2 separate regions of the Homo sapiens genome follow, and region 2 is linked to region 1. The links are contacts of gene promoters, found by promoter capture Hi-C in human tissues and cell types (Jung and others, 2019). All regions are on one chromosome and are shown on one strand. The core of a region is centred on a gene start or on the middle of the fragment in contact, and the rest is flanking DNA. Distances in the headings are between cores, read along the strand shown.

The links. Contacts are between HindIII fragments. The study calls those that stand out against the background at their distance.
Region 2: a contact is called between a fragment that was not itself captured here and the fragment with the promoter of GNA12 in region 1, in 2 of the 25 tissues and cell types used here (dorsolateral prefrontal cortex and mesenchymal stem cells).

The regions. Positions count from the first base shown.
Region 1 is chr7:2,842,951-2,845,650 of GRCh38, reverse strand. It overlaps GNA12 (G protein subunit alpha 12), which reads left to right and starts at 1,343. Exons shown (of 4, transcript NM_007353.3): 1 at 1,343-1,798. The coding sequence starts at 1,490. RefSeq lists enhancers at 850-979, 962-1,256, 1,219-2,036 and silencers at 1,150-1,479, 1,820-1,869. The HindIII fragment of the contact is 31,365 bases long and covers 1-2,700 here.
Region 2 is chr7:3,483,393-3,486,092 of GRCh38, reverse strand. The region is part of intron 1 of SDK1 (sidekick cell adhesion molecule 1); the gene reads right to left. Among named protein-coding and RNA genes, the nearest start is that of SDK1-AS1, 130 kb to the right of the region's middle. The HindIII fragment of the contact is 8,636 bases long and covers 1-2,700 here.

The DNA of each region.
Region 1 (2,700 bases), core at 94-2,593:
AATCTACAACCTGAAACCATAAACATTCTAGAAGATAACATCGGAAACATCCTTCTAGACGTTGGCTTAGGCAAAGACTTTGTGACCAAGAACCCAAAAGCAAATGCAACAAAAACAAAGATAAATAGATGGGACTTAATTAAACTAAAAAGCTTCGGCACTGCAAAAGAAATAATCAGCAGAGTTAACAGACACCGCACAGAGATTGGACTTTGGGGACTCAGGGTAAAAGGTGGGGGGTGGCGAGAGATAAAAGACTACACACTGGGCCAGGCGCGGCGGCTCACGCCTTTAATCTTAAGGGATACCTGAGCTCCTTCTAGGAGGTTCTGATTCAGTAGATCTGGGAGAGTCAAGAATCTGTAATCAGCTGATCTCTATCAAGAGCTGATTTTGGGCTAGCTCACGTGCTAAGTGTTTGGTAAGTTCATGTTCTCAGTTTATATCTTCATGACGATTTGAGCAATGTCAAGCCATAACCAATGTCGTCAATGACACCCCCGTTTTACAGATGAGGAAACGGAAGCTAAGAACATCCAAAAGGGTTTGTTGGGGGGGGTGGGGAAAGCTGCTAAAAAAAGTTATGCAACTAGTACACCTAGTAACTGGTCGACTGGAGATTCCAACTCAGGCCCAGCAACTCCAGACCCCACTCTCTCAATCACTGTGAGACATAAGACTTTTGGGGGAGCTTCTGGTGATTTTAGTGATTAGTCAGCTTTTCGCAAAGCCTCCTAGAAGCCCATGCCACTCTCAAAGGGTGCATGTGTTTGAAATTTATGGCCCATCCCCCTCCAGTGTTTCTGGAAGGAAAATAGTGTAGAAACAAGATCATCGGAGGGAATACGACGAGCAGCTGAACCTCTTATCAGCATTTCCCAGCCTTTGGGCTACTCCGCGAGGTCCTGGTCTCACAGGCGGACCCAATCTGGGAACCAAGGGAGAATCTTTCTGTACACCTGGCACTTCTCGTCACGCCCCGTCCCCCGAACACCCAATCCAAAGCCCGTTGGGCACGTCTGATGTCCACTCAGAGCAATTATAATTGGCCATGGCGGACGATCGCTCCGCCTCCCGGGCGACCCCGCCTCCCTTTCATTCTGAAAGAAAGAACCTCAGCCTGGGCGTCCAATGAGAAGCGCCTTCACCTCAAAGATCCCGCCTCTTTCGGCGTCGACCCCGCCCCGAGGCCGGAAGGGATGCCCGCCTCCCTTGGCGAGATGAGCCAATCGAAGGGCTCTCACGGCCAGATGGACGGCAGCCGGCCCAATCCGCCGGGCCTCACGCGGCGCCGCCCGCCCCTCCGCCGGGCCCGAGTGGCGGCCGGGCGACGAGTGCGGGCCTCGGAGCGACTGCAGCGGCGGCGGCGGACGCGGCCTGAGGCGAGCGGCGGGGCGTGGGGCGGTGCCTCGGCCCGGGCTCGCCCTCGCCGGCGGGAGCGTCCATGGCCCCCGGGCGCCGGCGGGGCGCGGCCGCGGCCTGAGGGGCCATGTCCGGGGTGGTGCGGACCCTCAGCCGCTGCCTGCTGCCGGCCGAGGCCGGCGGGGCCCGCGAGCGCAGGGCGGGCAGCGGCGCGCGCGACGCGGAGCGCGAGGCCCGGAGGCGTAGCCGCGACATCGACGCGCTGCTGGCCCGCGAGCGGCGCGCGGTCCGGCGCCTGGTGAAGATCCTGCTGCTGGGCGCGGGCGAGAGCGGCAAGTCCACGTTCCTCAAGCAGATGCGCATCATCCACGGCCGCGAGTTCGACCAGAAGGCGCTGCTGGAGTTCCGCGACACCATCTTCGACAACATCCTCAAGGTGACGCGCGCCCCCCGCCCAGCACCTGCACCCAGGTGGGCCGGGGCGCTAACCCCCGCCCCGGGCCCCTCCGTGGTCCGCCGCCGCGGGCGGGGACCCCTGGGGCGAGGATGCTGGATCCAGCCCCGCCTGCACCCCACTCCCCCCCGACCCATTCCCCGAGGCCTGCTGGCGTCGTCTCTGCCCCACCCCGTCTCGCCCTTTTTGAGATGGGGTCTCGCTGTGTTTCCCAGGCTTGAGTGCAGTGGCGCCCTCACAGCTCACTGCAGCCTCGACCTCCCAGGCTCAAGCCCTACTCCCTCCTTAGCCTCCCGAAGTAGTGGGATTACAGGCGCGCACCACCAGCCCAGCTAATTTTTAAGTTTTTTTTTGTAGAGATGGGGTCTTGCTGTGTTGCCCAGGCTGGTCTCAGTCTCCTGGCCTCAAGTGATCCTCCTGCCTTGGTCTCCCTCAAGTGCTGGGATTATAGGCATGAGTCATGGCGCCCGGTCTGCCTCTGCCCTCTCTAGGGTGCCTGGGGACCGTGGGAGTGGGAACTCGGGCCAGCTTCTGGGGATGGGGAGTGGGGGCTTGGCACTTAGCCCCCTCCTGGATGTGCCCTAGCAGAATGGTATCTGTCCATTTCCCACTGGAAGATTTGTGGGATAGGAGCCCAACCGGCCGTGCCCTCCGGCTGAGCTTAGAAGAAGAGCAGTGGAGACTGGACGGGAACCAGCCATGAGTCTCTTTTTACTTTTCTGTTTTTTTAGAAAGGCTCTCACTCTCTTGCCCAGGCTGGTCTCAAGCCATCCTCCCACCTGGGCCTCCCAAAGTGCTGAGATTACAGGTGTGAGCCACACTTTCTAATACGAAAACTTCAAATGTATACAAAAGTAGAGAAAATAGTAGATTGACTGTAAAGT
Region 2 (2,700 bases), core at 163-2,662, 640 kb before region 1:
GGGGGGAAAAAAGCACTAAGCATAGATGATTTTAATGAAGAGTTTTTCAGATCTTCAAAAAATAGATAAAACCAATATTATATAAACTGTCCAATATTATATAAACTGTCCTAATAGTGTCCTAAAAGCACTAGGCATAGATGGTTTTAATGAAGAGTTTTTCAAATCTTCAAAAAATAGATAAAACCAATATTATATAAACTGTCCTAACGGGACAAAGAATAAGATTTTTTAAAAACCTAAGATGTTTTAGAAAGCCACCATAGTTGGATTCATAAATATAATAAGAAAACACACTTACGTGGGAATAGCACTTATGAATATAGATGGAACATTTTTAAATAAAGTTTAAAAATTACCAGAGAGAAAGGTGGAGCAAGATGGCTCAAAAAAAAAAAAAAAAAAAAAACCCTCCAAAGATCATCCCCTCAGCACAAACATCAAAATGAACAACTATCCATACAAGAAAGCATTTTCATAACAGCTAAAAATCAGATGGGAGATGACAGGACCTGGTTTTAGCTTAACAAGAAAAGATGCATTTAAAGGGGTAGGGAAGACAGTCTCACATTACCTACACCCTGGTACCTCATCCCCAGGCAGCACAGCCTGGAGGGAAAACACCTATGCTTGGGGTAGGGAAAGCAAAGTGAGTGTGGGACTTGGCATTGGAACTAGGTGTTAGCCCTGCCACGGTGGAACCCAGCACTGAACTCAAACAACTCAATCGCAAATAAGCAAATAATCTGATTTTTAAATGGGCAAAGTATCTGAAGAGACATTTCTCAAAAGAAGACCTGCAAATGGCCACCACGTCTAGGGAAAAAATGCTCAATATCACTAGTCATTAAGAAACGCAAATCAAAACCACAGTGAGATTTCATCTCACCCCAGATATGATAGCTATTATCAAAAAGACAGAAAATAACAAATGCTGGCTAGGATGCAGAGAAAAAGAATGTTCATACGGTCTTGGTGAGAATGTAAATTGGCAGAACTATTATGGAAAACAGTATGGAGGGTCCTCCAGAAATGGAAAATAGAACTGCCATATGATCTAGCAATTCCGCTGCTGGGTATATACCCAAAAGAAAGGAAATTAGTCTATCAAACAGATGACCTGCAGTCCCACGTTTACTACAGCTCCATTCACAATAGCCAAGATATGGAATCAAGCTAAATGCTCATCAACAGATGAATGAACAAACAAAATATGTTATGCTTCCACAAAGGAATACTATTCAGCCACTGAAAAAATGAAATGCTGTCATTTGCAGCAACACGTTTATAACTGGAGGACATTAAGCGAAAGTCAGGCCCAGAAAGACAAATATCCCATGTTCTCACTCCTATGTGGGAGCTAAAAAAAACCGATCTTGTGGAGGTAGTGAGTGCAACAGTGTTTCCCAGAGGCTAGGAAGGGCAGGGGAGAGGAAAGTGTGAGGCGAGGTTGGTTATGGATACAAAACCACAGTTAGAGGAAAGGAATAAGTTCTAGTGTTCAACAGCACTGGCAGGAGACCATAGTTAACTATTGTACAGTTAATCCTTGAACAACTCTGGTTTGAACTGCCAGGATCCACTTATACAAGGATATTTTTCCAACCAAACTGAAAATATAGCCGTTCCTCGGTCTACATGGGGAACTAGTTCCAGGACCCTCATGTTTACCGAAATCCTCACACACTCATGTCCCGAAGTCGGCCTTGTGGAACCTCATATTCAACAAGTCAGCCCCCATATATGTAGGTTTCGCATCCAGTGAATATGTATTTTCGATCTATGTTTGGTTGAAAAAAAATGTGTGTATACATGGACCCATGCAGTTCAAATCCTACAAAACTGTACAGTATTGGAGGGATGTGAATTCATGGATACAGAAGGTGAAATTTTGTATCCGTGGGTTTGGCAGGGCCACCTGTGGACTGGAGCATGCTTCGATTTTGGTTATACAGGGGACCCTGGAATCAACCCCTCACATATACTGAAGTAAGGCATTTCTTAAATAGCTGCAAGAGAATATTTGGAGTATCCCCAACACACAGAAATGATAAATGTTTGAGGTGACAGATATCCCAATTACCCTGATTTATTACACATCATATGCGTATATCAAAATATCACATGTACCCCATAAATATGTCCAACTATTATGTATTAGTTAAAAACTAAAAATAAATTTTAAAATGTTAGACAAGTATTATGGCCATGTAGAGCTTATCCAACGTATATATAAACATTTTAATGATAAAGAGGAGAAAAAAGAAATGTTCCAATGAATTTACTATAGTCATGTATTAAAGGAGAAACATCATGTAACTATCAGAGACTGAAATAAATATCATCTAATAGTACTGAACACCCATTCCTAACAAAAATGCTTAGCAAATTCTGATAAAAGGTATATATCAAAAATTTAGAGAAAATATTACATTTAATGGTAAAATATTAGAAGCATCCATTAAAATGAAGAAGAAAACAAGGATATCTGTTCCACTTGTTAAAATCCCGCATTGTAGTGGTGCAGGGATTGCAATAAGATAAAAATTTAGAGACAGAAATATTCACAAGGAAATGATTATCACAATTTACAAACAATATGATTATTCACCTAGAAAATCAGAGGCAATCAGAAAAAGTAAGGGATTTTGGCAAGCGCAAAACATACAAGGTGAACACAAAACTCAACAGCCTTCTTAC